Regions from separate parts of the Homo sapiens genome. Here region 2 is linked to region 1. Evidence: promoter capture Hi-C in 16 types of primary human blood cells and fetal thymus (Javierre and others, 2016). All regions are on one chromosome and are shown on one strand. Each heading gives the region's core, a stretch centred on a gene start or on the middle of the fragment in contact. The rest is flanking DNA. Distances are from core to core; before and after follow the strand shown.

Region 1 (7,918 bases), core at 3,686-6,185:
GGCAGCTTGACAAGGTAAGCAGCTTGAACCAGGTGGGCTGAACCAAGAACAAGCAGGACATACACTTTGTCTCATTAGCATGCAAACCCCAAAGGAAAACAGCGATCAAATTGCTAGGTGGCTAAGTCCGCATGTAGTATCTAGCCCTCGAGTTTAAATATTATGTCTAGCCTAATTTCCTAACAAAGTATTTCTGAATGGAACCTTGCACAAAACATTTTCTGGCTACGCAAACTTTACATGTAACTTTGTTATGAGAGATAAAATATTCCTTTTTTCTTTATTCACCAAAATTTCACCACGGGTGCTATGGGAAAGGGAGTATTCAGGGTTCACTGAGACGCCCTAGAAGTGGGTACACCATGGTCCTTGCCTTCAAAGTTTCTTATTGCCCAAGAAATTACTTATTACATTTCTCTAGATATCAATTGTCTATCGAATGCATACAATTTGAGAATTGGATTACACATTTTGAGGTCACTTTGTTCTTCTTTCCTTTTCTTTCTTATTTTTAGAGACGGTCTCACTCTGTTGCCCAGGCTGGAGTGCAGTGGCACAATCAGAGCTCACTGTAACCTCAAACTCCTGGGCTCAAGCGATCCTCCTGCCTTGGCCTGCCAAAGCTCTGGGATGACAGGCGTGAGCTAAGGTCATTTCTGTGACTCTAGAACTCTTGCATCACACATACCCTCCACAGAGCACAAAGCTAATGTGAAAGGTTATTGGCAAAATCATTTAATAAGGCAGGAGATGGCTTGAGGTCAGGAGTTCAAGGCTGCAGTGAGCTGTGTTCTTGCCACTGCACTCCAGCCTGGGTGTCAGAGTGAGACCCTGTCTCAAAAAAAATAAATAATAAAATAAATAAATAAATAATTTAATGATGTATTTGTGAATGGTATTGTGTTAGATGGCTTTCAAAACATGTTAAATCACCAGAAATTCTGTCCTTTGAAACCTGCAAGTCTCCTCATAACTACCTAAAAATACCACACTATGCCCCTATCTGTCCCTCACATGGTGCTATTGGCCTCTGCACCCACCCACAGATTGCTGCTTTCCTAAGGCGGAGCCTCTCCTAACAACAGGTATCCATCCCCTCTTCCTCTAGGGTCATTCAGCACTCTGTCATCACTAAATTCAGTTTTTTGGCAGTTGCAGCAAGCCTATTGTCTTGCATTATTAATATAAAATTAAGTATAATATAGCTATTATGAAACAAATAAATGCTATGGAAGCACTGAGGTGGAAGGATGAATTTGAATTAGGAGGATCAGGAAAGCATCAGGGAAGAGAGGATTTTTGAGTCTAATTGTTTTCAAGGGCAGGATCCAATAAAGGAGTTTAGGTTGGGTGGTGGTGAAAGGCAATAATTGATGATGATGGTAAGCCTTCAAGCCTGGCCAATGAAAATTTGTTAAATAAAAGAACTTCCAGCTGGGGTAACCGAGTGATATGAATGCCATTTCCAATATAATACAAGAAATAAAGTAACTTGTGGATGGGGAAAGATGTCAAACTTGGCTTTAGATATCTTTTTTTTTTTTTTTGAGATAGGGTCTTGCTCTGTTGCCCAGGCTGGAGTGCAGTGGTGCAGTCATAGCTCACTGCAGCCTCAGTGATCCTCCTGCCTCAGCCTCCCAAGTAACTGAGACCACAGGATGCATACCACCATGTGCAGCTAATTTAAATTTTTTTTTTTTTTTTTGGTAGAAATGAGATCTCGCTATTATATCCAGGCTACCCTTGAACTCCTGGGCTCAAGTGATTCTCCCATCTTGGCGTCCCAAAAGTGCTGGGATTACAGGCATCAGCCAGCATGCCCAGATGGTTTTAGACACTTTTAAAAGATGCCTGTGGAAAAATGATGTACAAATGTGCAACCAGGCATTTCTCTGGGGTCGGGGAAGAGTTTATGAGTTACTTGCAAGCACTCTACATTTTCTATTGTGTTGTCTGGTTTACAAAGGGTTTTCATTGCCATTATCTACTATTGATTTTGATTCTAACAAACATCCTATAATGTAGGTAGGGGAGGATTATATTACTAGGTTCAAAATAGTTCCTAAAGTGACATTTGTGTCTGATGATAGTTACTGTTAACATAAAGAACCCGAGGCTGGGAGAGGTTAAGTGATTTGCTCAAGTAAGTGGGAGAGCTACAGCTCAGTCCCCGTGATGTCTCACTAAAAATTTAGGTTTTGGGCTTTTTTAAACCACTAAGAGCAGTGATGGTTGATGCTGGAGAAGCAGATATCATTTTGGATGAAAGCAAGCAGGAAATTACGACGAGGGGACTTAAAAAACAGTCAAAGAAAGAATAGGAGCAAATGAAGGTGACCACATGACCTCCCCTCAACCCCTGAGGAGACTCAAGATCCTAAAGGGATAATGGCCTGTCATCCTTCATCTCCCTGACAGGACCAAGCAGTCTGCCAAGGGCACAGAAGGTATCTACTATATTTGAGTGGAGTAATAATGACAACAGACAACTTACAGCGGGTCCTCAAATACTGTCATTTTGTTCAATGTTGTTTTGTTATAATGTTGATGAGAAAAAAATGGATTTCTAGCCGGGACCACTGTTTGTATTTGCAGGTTCTCCTCGTGCCTGCAAGAGTTTTCTTTGGGTACCTTGGTTTCCTCTCACATCTTAAAGACATGCACGTTCAGTTCATAGGCTTGTCTACATGATACCAGTAGTTTTTCTTTTCTTTTTTTTTTTTTGTTTTAAGAGACGGGGTCTCCATCTATTACCCAAGCTAGAGTGTAGTGGCATTATCACAGCTCACTGCAGCCTCCAACTCCTGGGCTCAAGCAATCCGCCTACTGCAGCCTCCAGAATAGCTGAGACTACAGGTGTGTACCACCATGCCTGGTTAATTTTTGTATTTATGGTAGAGATGGGGTTTCACCATATTGCTCAGGCTGGTCTCCAACTCCTGGGCTCAAGCAGTCCACCTGCCTCATGCCTCCCAAAGTGCTGGGACTACAGGCATGAATCACTGCCCCCTTCCTAAATGGTCCCAGTTTAAGTGAGTGTAGGGGTGTGTGTGTGTGTGTGTGGTGTGTGTGTGTGTGTGTGTGTGTGTGTGTGTGTCTTGCAACAGAATGGCATCCTATCCAGGGATGGTTCCCACCTTTTGCCCAAGCTGAGCAGCTGGGATAAGGCTCCCACTATCTGTGACCTTGAACTGGAATAAATGAGTTGGAAAAATGAATAAATCCGTGAAACAAATGACTGTAAAATAAAAATATGTAAGTGTACATTAATCATAAAAATGCACGACAATAAATGAGATAGGAGTGCACTCAGCTACCATATTTGTGATTGTTTTTGAATTTCATGGTAGCAGCAGGTCCTACAGGCAACTTTTGCTTTGCAAACACTTATTCCTTGACTTAACCCAGCACCACAGCAACCATCGCTCACTTAATCACTAGAAATTTGGCAAACCATTATCTTGTTTTTATCAATCTTTAAAAAATGTAGGTAGGCCAGGTGCAGTGGCTGGTGCCTGTATTCCCAGCACTTTAGGAGGCCAAGGTGGGCAGATTCCTTAAGCCCAGGAGTTCGAGACCAACCTGGGCAGCATGGTGAAACCCCATCTCTACCAAAAATACAAGAAGTTTATCCAGGCTTGGTGGTGCGCGCCTGTAGTCTCAACTACTGGGGAGTCTGAAGTGGGAGAATCACCTGAGTCTGGGGAAGTAGAGCCTGCAGTGAGCTGTGATTGCACCACTGCACCCCCAGCCTGGTTGACACAGCGAGACCCTATCTCAAGGGAAAAAATAAAAATAAAAAAGAGGTATAGCTCACATTTATTTTAATGTTTAATATTAGAAGTGTTTTGAATTTTTACTTTGAAGTTCGGTGATGTTTTTGTAACCGGAAATAATGCTGTAGGAACTTAACTCTTTTTTTATATGTCAGCCTATGGCAAATTTGGTTTTGTTATATGTTGTTTTGCTTAAGGTGACAGTTTCCAAGAACCTACTCCGTGAGGACTGGTGAGCTGGGTCAGAGTAAATAGCACAGGATGACGACTGCAAGGACGATATGGGGGCAGCAGGGTTTTAGACATACTTGGAATGGCAGCTTCCTGAGGTAGGCCAAGTATTCTCAGCATAATAAGGGCTACATTTAGGTGTATCTGGAGGAAGACGGTGAACAGATTTCCACGGACGGTGAGTGCACTGGAAAACAGGCAGGGATGGCAAGTACCATAGTGATGGATTGGAAGAAGGTGCACTTTGGGGCATGATTCTACTGGTTAAGCCAAGGGCTCTCGATGAGGTCCGAGGTTCCTGCCCCGGGCACGGAGTGGGTTGGCAGTGACAGCCCAGCCTATTACGTGGGAGTCTCCCTCTTGAATGGCTCCAGGAGGCCCATATCGAGGGTCTGAAAGGCCAGACGGTTATCCGCACAAAAGTATTAAGTTCATTTCAGGGACTGACCCGGCAATGTGCCCGGGTCCTTCCCCTCGGTGCTGGGAAGCCCTGGTCTCCCTGCAGCATTTCACACCTGGCTGGGTCTCCTGACTCGTGGCGTGGGTGAGTGCATGAGCCTCCCTCCTTCGCCTGATCGACGCCTGGGGGCTCCTCTCCCCAACCTCCTCACTCTGCCCACTCTGTCCTCTCCCTCCTTGGGGAGCGGCAGGGGACGCCTAGCCGGGGTCCCCAGGCTCCCGCTCGCAACCCACGGCCTCCTCCGCGGGCAGGGAGCGAACGCCCGGAGGTCGCCCGCGCACAGGGGGCGGCCCGGCTGCAGCGGAGCCGGGGCGGGAAGGCGCAGCCTAACGGTCCAGCTGCCGCGCCCCGCGCCCCGCACCCAGTGCCCCGCCCGCGGCGCCGCAGCCGCCTCCCGCCTGCCCGCCCGCCCCCTGCGTCATGACGCCGGCGCCCAACGCGGAAGCCGCTCGCCGCGCGCCGGGTCCAGCCGCGGGCTGAGCGCGGATCCGCGGCGGGCGCAGGATACGGGCCGGGGCGCGAGCCGAGCGCAGTCTGCCGGGCCGAGCGGGCGGAGCGAGCCGAGTGGGGCTGAGCGCGCCGGCGGCGGCGGGCGGAGCGGAGCGCGGCGCGCCGGGGCCGCCGCCGGGGGGATGCGGCTGCCTCCCCGGGCCGGGGTGTAGAGAGGGCGGGTCCCCGGCCTCGGGAGCACGGCGGTGGAGGGGACATAGGAGGCGGCCATGGCGACCCCCGGCAACCTAGGGTCCTCTGTCCTGGCGAGCAAGACCAAGACCAAGAAGAAGCACTTCGTAGCGCAGAAAGTGAAGCTGTTTCGGGCCAGCGACCCGCTGCTCAGCGTCCTCATGTGGGGGGTAAACCACTCGGTAAGGGCTCAGCTGCGGCGCGCGGTCCCCTTCCTCCTCCTCCTCTTCCTCCTCGTTCCCCTCCTCCTCCGGCTGCAGCTGCTGCGGGGCGGGGAGCCGGAGTCAGCCCTGGACCTCCGGCTGCTCGCCCGCCTCGAAGCCCCCAGCCCCGCGGCGCGTGCCCCCAGCCCTCTGGGCCGCCCAGGCACCACCACTTGCGTCCCCTTTAGATCTATGGCCCGGTGCGGGTCGGGGGTCCCGTGTGCATGTGAGTCTCACGGTGGGTGCCAGTGCCGCCCCCGGTCCGCCCGCCCGCCCGCAGGTCGGTCCCCGCAGCCTGGGAGGTAGGAAGTTTGTGCGGGGCACGGCGCCTCGGCTGTCAGCCCCGGCGGGAGCTGCTGGGGGCCGGGTCCGGGCGACCGCTACCCGGTGTGGGGGCCGCGCGGCGCCCGCGTCTTCCGCTTGCGGGCAGGTGTACCTGTCCCGGGCTGGGCGCGTGCGAGCCTCCCACTGGGGCACTGGGGCGAGGATACCGGAGCGCGAGCAGATTTGGGGCAGCAGCTTTAGTGCTTAGGTCCTTTCTTTTTCCTTTAAAGGCAATATTACTGGGCACAAGTCGGCTTTTTGGCAAAGCAGCAGCCGATGTAAATATGGCTCTGGCGTCGGGCGGCATCCCTGCGCTTCTCCCGCATCGCCCTGCCGCTGTGCGGGCTGGAGAGCCCTTGGCGGGGAGTCTTCCTCCCTTCGTCGCCTCCCCCCACTTTGGGGAGTCAGGCAGAAGTCACCGACTGCGGAAGGGCGGCCGGGGCGGGGACAGCAGGCGGGGGTCCCGGCGGGCGCGGGCGGAGGGGGTCCCGAGTTGGCCGCACCCGCTGTGGGGGGTGTGGGAAAGGCTGGAGAACGCGTGGAAAGGTTAGCGTCACGCACAGTCGGGGATTGGAGGATGCGCCGCTGCGGGCTATGCGGACTGCGGTTCGAGGGTCTGAAATAGCCTCCTGCTGATCTGACAGCGAGAAACTCCTGCAGTTTTAATCCACTTCGATAGGATCAGGAAACATGATCGGAGCTGTTGGCTCAGCCAGGAAAGTTTAAACGAGCTGTGAATTTTGACCATGACCTTAGCCACTGCAGTCACTTAGCATCTGGGGAAAAGTGTAAGTTCGCTTTCCCTGCTTTTGATTTCGATGGATGTCTGTATGTCCTTTTCAGCGTAATGGAAATGACAGAAAACCATGCTGGTTTTTCGGAAAACACACACACAGACACACACACACACACACACACACACACCCTCAATGTAGTGAAGTTGTTTAAAATGCCTAAAAGCATCGTTTTTGTATTTTTCTTCCCCAAGCTGAGCAGGGGGAAGGGCAAAACAGTATCAGGATCGATCGTGTTTGCATGGAGTGAGTGTTTTTGGAAAAGTTGAGAAATGATTATTTTTATCCAGCTTAATGACTGACTCACTGAAGTTCATTTTAACTTCCTGGCAACTTCTTTAGCTATTTGGGAATGTAAGTTGTTACAAGAGCATGCATTACTGCACCAAAAACTCCTCTCTCAAGTTTTATTACGGAAAATGAAATGCAATTTTTCCTAAGTAATAAGTTTACAATGTAGAGTTATGTATAATTTTGTTAAGCTCTTTTATTATTTATGTTAGTAGTTTTTGGGTCCCTTATTACTAGAATAGAAACTTACAATTTAAAAAAAGGATGAATACTGTAGTGCTTACTCATATTTATGGTGCTTTTATCTCCTTTGGAGTTCTGGTGTTTTGGTCAGGAGAGTGTTTCTGTCTCGGGGTTTAATTTAGTAAGGTAGTGTCAACAATATGCTGCCGAAAAAGAGTGTGCTTTCTGGGAACTCGTCTGAATTCCAGTTTGCCTTAAAAAATCTTGTAATTGTGTATGTTTTACTGTAACCACTTACGTTGCTACCTTATATTTATGAATTGCTACATTTGTTTTAGAGTTTCTTGCTAATTGGAAATATTTTGAAACTACTTAAGTGTTTCATAGTGTATGACTTGTAAATAGTACATTTGGTGTTATTTTCTTTTGCTCTCAAGAGAAGTTGGCAGTTCTAAGTATCCACAACCAGAGGAGTGAAGTTTCCATTTCATATAAATGTAAGCATGTTACTCATTCAACAGATATATATTGGGCACATACAGTGCCAGCTACTGTGGGAAGAATTGCTAAAACACCTCTAATATTTTTATCCAACTGTCTTTATTTTGAGGGCTCTGAGTTGACATAAGAAAGGTCTGTTTCACAGCCTTTTTTTTCAAAATGTCTATTTTCTTTACTATATTATTTTTGAAAAAAGAATGGAGGTGTAATATAAACATGAAATCTAAAACCCTTAGATGCCATGTATTTCTGGTTTGATTTCATTTTAGGTGACAATGTCTGATATTAGATAAATGTTTTATATGACCTTCTGTGCACCAAAGTTTATAGTATAATGTGAGAATAAATATGTCAGCAGTCTTAAGAACAAACAAGCATGGTGTTGTATACGAGCATCTTCCACATACTGTGGTAAAACGCTCATTGAATCTGCGCTTTAAGTTTTTCTTAAATTCTAACTGTTGACCTTGGGCA
Region 2 (7,918 bases), core at 3,168-5,667, 210 kb before region 1:
CTTCTCACGTGCAGTGGTCATCACCAGACAACCTTATATACATATCTAATAGCTATAGCAGAACTTCCAGTTATTTTTGAAAATTCACTTGATTAATTAACATAAATGAGAGGCTGGCAAATGTAAATGGTAAGTATTTAAAAGAACAACCCAAACTATTTATTCATTAACTATGCTATAAACATGCCATCTACATACTGGAAAAGCTAATAATTACTCTCTAATTGTGCTAATTATATAATGACAATGTTGTAAATGTTTGTTTATGTAATGTTAGATTTCTCTGACTAATCTTATCATTAGTCAGACTTTGGACTTCTGCCACCGCGTATTCATGTATATACTGGTACATGCCAAACTGTGTGAACAATTTATTTTTATAACTGGTTGTTAAAGTGCTACTAGTATTCAAATCAGAAACTTACCACATCCTTAGGAGGAGGCTCTACTTCCTTCTTTATCTTTTTACCCATCCTGGAAAAAGATGCAATATATGGTTAAAGTGACATTTGCACATACATTTCTCAATTACCTGTGCCCTTGAGAGGAGGTTTATTTTCTCCTTTAAATTTTTACCTCCTAAAACACAATGCAATACATGTAAAAATTATCACATATGTACAAATATGTCACCTACATCCCAATTTCAAACTCTGCAATTTTAAGGAACTTATTGATAAGATCATTGAGTGTTAGTCCTGGCTTTCAGTTTAGAAAGGAGGTGAATATATTAGTGGCATAACTTAAATAACAAGAAATCATTTACCATTTTTATAGCTTGCTTATGATGGGCTTAAGAGACTAAGCCCACCAAGTTACTTTTGAGACCTGCAAGAATGTTTGTGCCACAAAGGCAGAGGTTTTTGTCTATTTTCTTGCACTGATCTATCCTAAATACCTACAACAGTGTCTGGTACATAATTGGCATTTGATATTTATAAACCTCATTAACTCCATTTTTCCTAGGAGTAATGATCTCATAAATGGTATACAAAATCTACCAGGTCTTGAATCAACATTTGTGTCCTTTGCCCGGATAACAAAAAGTTTTCTTTCATAATCCACAGCTTAGTAAAAAAGCAATTAAAAAATCTGAAGAGATATATTCTGGGGAAACTGAGGTTACTTCCTTTCCACTTGTCCTCATATGTCCATGTCTGTGTGGAAAAAGTGAAAGGAATGGAATTTATACATAGTTAACATACCACAGAGGAGTAACCAGCCTGGGTTCAAAGAACTTTTCAGGCCGGGCAGGTGGCTCACGCCTGTAATCCCAGCTCTTTGGGAGGCCGAGGTGGGCGAATCACGAGGTCAGGAGTTCAAGACCATCCTGGCCAACACAGTGAAATCCTGTCTCTACTAAAAATACAAAAATTAGCCGGGTGTGGTGGCACGTGCCTTGTAGTCCCAGCTACTCAGGAGGCTGAGGCACAAGAATCACTTGAACCCGGGAGGCGGAGGCTGCAGTGAGCCGAGATCGCACCACTGCATTCCAGCCTGGGCAACAGAGTGAGACTGTCTCAAAAAAAAAAAAGAAACTTTTCAAGATGTTAATGTCTATTAGAATAACCCAGGAAATCTATCTAGTTTTCTTCAGTGAGAGTTTGTGGAATTATGTTTGACATCAGGGCCATCTTAAACGGTATATCGTAGGAGCAATCTTAAACGGTATATCATAGCCTTAAGGAAATTACCATAGTCTCAGTAGAAATCCTAGGAAGTAGAAAATCCTTGGGGAGAATCTACAGTGTCAGGGTTAGCTCAAATTGCATGTCAAGGGTCAAAAGCAACTCCTAGCATTAGAGACACTGACCAGAATTTATCACATACATTAAAAAGCCACGTCTTCATAGAAACTCCTAGATACTTCTGAAAGGCATTTATTCTAGGTCTCTAACTTCAGACCACACTACTTTTAAGACTTTGGAGGGCCTGGGCAAGCTTATTCACACAATAGCCAATATATTAAAATGTTAAAATGTGCCTGCATCGCCCATTAAATGTCATTTGCATCATAAAAACTTTTGAAATTTGTATTTGAAATTACTCAGCAATCAGTACATACACCTGGAAATTCTTGTAAAATGAGAAAATTGTTTTCAAATGTAATAAAAATTTATATTAATAAAACATTTAATTAACACTAATTTTTCAGTTCTCTTTTCATATTTTAGAGCCAATATAAGCATTTTTTTCAAATCTCAAACATCTTCCTTAGGTGCTTGAAAAGTGAACAGGCCCTAGACCTTGTGCCTATAATATTTCAGGCAGAGAGGCAGAAACTATTCTGGGCAAATGAGAATCTATCCTACAATTAATCTCTAGGAAAAAAAAAAGAGAGAGTTTATAGCACTCTATAACCAATTCCAAGACAGAGCAGCCTTTGATTTATAAAATAATTGCTTATGAATAATATTCAGGAAGCAATTTAATTACACCTGCATAAAGTTGTTTTAAATCATCTGATTTTCACTTAGGAACTAATTTTTCCTACTTCAGGATAGTGTTTTTGAGCAATTGCATAGTGCAGAGGTTAGAAGAGCTTACACAGACAGTATTGCAATGATAGAGTGTCTCCTAAGCTAAAGAATGAAGTTAAAAGCCTATGTGTTTTATCATGGCCCGGCGTGGTGGCTCACTCCTGTAATCCCAGCACTTTGGGAGGCTGAGGCGGGTGGATCACCTGAGGTCAGGAGCTCAAGACCAGCCTGGACAACATGGCAAAACTCTGTCTCTACTAAAAATACAAAAATTAGCCTGGAGTGGCGGTGGCATGTGCCTGCATTCCCAGCTACTGGGGAGGCTGAGGCAGGAGAATTGCTTGAGGCCGGGAGGCGGAGGTTGCAATAAGCTGAGATCACCCCATTGCACTCCAGCCTGGGTGACAGAGCGAGACTCTGTCTCCTCCCCCAAAAAAAGCCTATGTGTTTTATCACCATATTGGGTATGATAGTTAATGGAGGAGAGACTGAACAGCTGACATAGGTCGGTGGCAATGAGCTATGGAGATGATCCTTACAAGGGTAATACATTTCACTGTGGAGAATTTGGAAAACAAGGGCACAACGAATAAAATAAAAATCACCCAAAGATAAGCTCAGAGAGATCAATACTATTTCTTTTCTTTTCCTTTCCTTTCCTTTCCTTTCCTTTCTTTTTCTTTTTCTTTCTCTTTCTCTCTCTCTTTCTCTCTCTCTCTCTCCCTCTCTCTCTCTCTTCTCTTTTTTTCTTTTTCTTTTTCTTTTTTGAGACAGAGTCTCACTCTGTTGCCCAGGCTGGAGAGTGGCCTGATCTTGGCTCATTGCAACCTCCACCTCCCAGGTTTAAGAGATTCTCCTGCCTCAGCCTCCTGAGTAGCTGGGATTACAGGTACCCGCCACCACGCTCGGCTAATTTTTGTATTTTCAGTAGAGACAGGTTTCCCCACATTGACCAGGTTGGTCTCGAACTCCTGACTTCAGGCGATCCACCCGCCTCAGCCTCCCAAAGTGCTGGGGTTGTAGGCGTGAGCCACCGTACCTGGCTTTGTGTGTTTTTCTAAAGTGATTTTAACATCCTGCCTCAACTTCTATCCCCTACTTTCACCTTCCCTTCCTGGGTTCATATTCCTACTAAATTCTTATATTAACAAATAAATTCATGAAGTCTCAGTTTCCCTTCATTGCTTTAATAATCTCCAGTGGATTAGCATAACATGCCATTACAAATATTTTAAAATCCCTTAGCTATCTAGCCAGTCTCTGATTGTTGAAATTTGTTTCTAATTTTCTGGAAATATGGACAGGGCTGAAAGAACGTCCTTGGACATAAAATTTTCATCCATTATCCCCAACTATTTCTTTAGGATAAATCTCTAGCAGTAAATTAACTGGGTGAAAACTTCAGGGCATTGGATATGCAAACAACTCTGCTCTAAAAATGCATCTTCTTGACTACTGGAGCCATTTTTTTTTTCACGAGTTGATTGGTCCTTTGTATTTGTTCTTCGTGAACGTTCAGCCTATGATTTTAAATATTTTCTAATGAGTTCTGCTTTGAGAAGATTTAAAGAGGAGGAGGGCTCAAGAAATCGAGGCCACTTCTGAGTTGCTCACAGTCAAGTAACGGAATCTGACTTGATCTCACCTCAGATCCCCTCTCGGGCCTCAGTTTTGTCACCTGTTGAATGGGAGGTGGCGGGATGCTTACGAAACCCACCCCAAGCCCCGTCTAACCCTGCGGGCGCGAGGCAGAAACTAACAACGCCCAGCAAGGTGTTGCCTCACTGACCCAAGCAGTCTGCGCCCACGTGGCACCTTCTCCTTTCCCAGGTTTTCCTCAGGCCTCTGCCTTGGGCCTCCCCACCCCACGGGGTTACCTTTACCTGCCGGGAGATCCCGCCGAGTAGCTAGCTGCTCCGCAAACCCAGCAGACGAACCCCCAGTCCCTTGTTGTGCCTCGTTGCTAGGCGACGCCACGCCGCGCCGCGCCTGCGCCCTGGGAACGCTCGGGGCTGCTAGGGCGCCCATTGTCCCGCCGAGGGCAGCGGCCAGTGCGGGAGGAGCCAAGTGCGTCCGCGATTACCTGAATCCAGTGCTTTAGGGGAGAATGGAAACTGGGGGTGGAAGCTGTAAATCAAGAGGCAGTTCAGCCTCAGTTTCTGGCCCAAGGACTGGCTGTGGGTTCAAATACGCAAATACTATTGCATTCTTCCAAATAGAGGCGTCAGCCGGAATCTCTATGCAGATGAAACCCACATCAGCCACCTCCTGCCCAGGCTCCGTTAAGCTGCAGACCTGCACTGCCACATCTCTTTGCACTAGGATGTCCAATCCGTTTCCACAGAACTTCTCATGGCCCTTCAAAGCCCCGTTCTCTTCCTCTTTCTTTCCTCTTCCTGCCATTCTTCCAATTGCCTAGACTCAGAAGGAGCTTCAATTTCCCTTCTTCCTCCCATGCCCCCCAACCACAGTCATCACTTCAGCCACTTCTTGGCGGCTTACATTTTGTTTCCTGCTTGTTCCCTTTCTCATATCCTTATTGTCACTTCAATCCAGCTCGTCATTTTTTGGCCTTCTGGCTGAGAAATTCAGTTGCTCTCTGCTTACAGTTCTTTCTACGTATCACAGGCAAATCGGCCATCCAGAAATCATCGTTCCAGTCTTGTCACTTCCCTACTCAAATGTCAGCGGCTTCCTAAGATAAATTTTCAACACATTGGCCTGGAATTTAAGACCGTCTGCTCCATCTCTACTCCATCTGTGCAACCACATTTTCAACCGATCTCCACCATCCAAGCTCCAGCCAAACTTACTGTTCCCGAAATTTTCCACACTTTTCTCTAGATTTTCTTGCTTATCTGTTCATCACTTCATTTTTCAACAAATATTTATAAAGTAGCTTCTATTTCCCAGGTCATGTGCAATACCTGAAATATTCTCTCATTTCCACTTAATTAAGCCCAGCTCAAATGCCATCTTCATAAAATATTTTTTGATTGCCTTTAGCAAAAAGTCTCTCCCTCTCCTCTTAGACTTTGCAAATTCCGTCTCCTACCGGCCCCTGTTGGTCTCCCAGTCCTAAGAATGATAGATGCTTCTTATAATTGCTACTTTTATATATCTTATGTTCTCTTCTCACCATTTAAATTGCCTGATAAACAGCTTTATAACAATTATTTGTATTCAGTTTTCCATGGTCAAATATCCGGTGTGACTTCTGTATAGAAAAGATCTTAAGTAATGGTCATGAAAGTAGGAAAAGGATTAAGACCAAGTAGCATCAAGGAAACTAAGGAGGGAGTTTCAAGAATATAAGCGTCATCAAGTGTTATATGATTGGACCTTGAATAATATACACCTGTATTTTCAGCCTCTCCCTGTCTTCCACGTTTTTTCCTGTTGGTATATAATTATGTTGAAGCCCCTCCCATGCCTCATCTAAAAAGCAAAAACAAATAAAATCCCTTTGATGTTGTTGTTCCTTCTAACTATTATCCTATTGTTTTCTTTCTCTTCTTGGTCATGACTTTTCAAAAAAAGTAGCCAGCATTAGATACTTACATATTTTTAACTTCCTATTCACTCTTCAGACTATAGTGACCTGTTTTCATCCCAGCACTAAAACTATCCATATCCATTGGATGCTTCTTAGCCCTCATCTTGCTTGACATTGCTGCTGTATATAATACTCAATGACACCTCATTCTTGAAACTCTTTTCTTGGTTTCCTTGGTACTACTTGCTCTTGATCTTCCTCCTACTTTCTTTTATGACCATCATTTAAGATCTTTTCTATACAACAGGGTCTATCTATGTTGCCCAGGCTTGTCTTGAATTCCTGGCCTCAAGGAATCCTCCTGACTCAGCCTCCTGAGTAGCTGGGATTTTATAGGGATATATGCCCTATTGTGGTTTTTTTACAGAATCTTAAATGTTGAAATTTCCCAGGGATCTGTCCCTTGTTCTCTTTTCACACTATATGCTTTTCTAGGTGATCTTATTTATATTTGTGACTTCAACTATTGCACATATGTAGCTCCTCATCAGACTCCGGTACTGAACTCTAGACCCATATATCCTACTTGCTACACAGTTCCACCTGGATACCCACAGGCACTTCAGTCATCAACACTACCCACCTAAACTCATCATTTTCCCAGTATAGACATGTTTTTCCATTTATCTAGGGGTACCAACAGGTGTTCTACCCAAACAGACCACCAAGTCTGACAGGCATCCTAGACTTATTCTCCTTTTCATGCAGTTAATTATTGGATTCCCCTAAAAGTTTCTTGAATTTATTCTCACCTTCCAATTCCCATAGCCCAAGTACAGAAAGTCACTGTCCTTTACCTGAATTCATCTAACAAGCCTTCTGGCAGGTCTTCCATCCTCTAGACTCATCCTAGCTTCAATTCATCTTCTCCAAGACAATCAAAGTAATCATTCTAAGATGCAAATTTAATTTGTCTGTGTCCTTGCTGGCTCCAATAGCTCTAACACACAAATGATGAAATGCAACAAGATTCTTAAATTGACACTCAAGATCTTTCTTGTTCTGACTGACTGCTTCCTACTACAATAGCTTCTGTCATTGTTCAAAAATATAGCAAACTGCTCAGCATTCTCCAAGTACACCATGACATTTTGAGCCCTTCACTCCCCTAATCAGCCTGAAAACCACTTATTCATCTTTCAAATTTTAACTTAGTCATCATTTCCTCCAAAAAGTCTTTATTAGCTTCTTCAGACAGAGGGAAGCATTTCTCATTCGTTGCTATAGCTGTACCTTACACTTGCTCTATTTGTTATTTTCACATGATACTGTAATGTATTTGTTGACATGTATGTCTCCCCACCTAGGCTGTTTCTAAATGTTCTTCAAGTAACTAAAGCTTTTTTAATACTCACTATGAGACTGGCAATTATGAAGTGGTTAAAGTGCACAATTAAATCCACACCGTAATCCTGTGAGGTCTGAATGAAGTACAGGGTGATTAGCAGAAGGTCACTCTACTAGTAAATGGTAAAGACAGGACTTGAACTAAGGTCAGCTTGACTTTTATATCCATGTTCTGCACCAATATATCATACCAGCCCATCCTGAAATTATAGTGTTATAACAAGTTGTGATTTATTTTATTTTATTTTATTATACTTTAAGTTCTGCACAATGTGCAGGTTTGTTACATTTGTATACATGTGCCATGTTGGTGTGCTGCACCCATTAACTCGTCATTTACATTACGTATATCTCCTAATGCTATCCCTCTCCCCTCCCCCCACCCCATGACAGGCCCCAGTGTGTGATGTTCCCTTGTGATGTGTTTTTATGAAATAATTAAAACTACTGCTTTAATTCTTGTTTTATAGACTTAGTCTTTGCTGAGTATGTCAAATTTGGGCGGGAGATCATGTTTATTTTAACATATACAGTT

The links. The method cuts DNA at HindIII sites, captures the fragments that hold promoters and counts their contacts. A CHiCAGO score of 5 or more calls a contact.
Region 2: the fragment with the promoter of ARMC3 here is called in contact with the fragment with the promoter of PIP4K2A in region 1 in 16 of 17 cell types (M2 macrophages, total CD8 T cells, naive CD8 T cells and 13 more); the score reaches 13.8 in M2 macrophages.

The regions. Positions count from the first base shown.
Region 1 is chr10:22,711,595-22,719,512 of GRCh38, reverse strand. It overlaps PIP4K2A (phosphatidylinositol-5-phosphate 4-kinase type 2 alpha), which reads left to right and starts at 4,935. Exons shown (of 10, transcript NM_005028.5): 1 at 4,935-5,330. The coding sequence starts at 5,187. RefSeq lists enhancers at 4,073-4,680, 4,681-5,289 and silencers at 4,450-5,119, 5,420-5,499, 5,670-5,789, 6,090-6,199. The HindIII fragment of the contact is 12,209 bases long and covers 1-7,918 here.
Region 2 is chr10:22,924,552-22,932,469 of GRCh38, reverse strand. It overlaps ARMC3 (armadillo repeat containing 3), which reads right to left and starts at 4,417. Exons shown (of 19, transcript NM_173081.5): 1 at 4,364-4,417; 2 at 426-474. The coding sequence starts at 473. The HindIII fragment of the contact is 5,434 bases long and covers 1,944-7,377 here.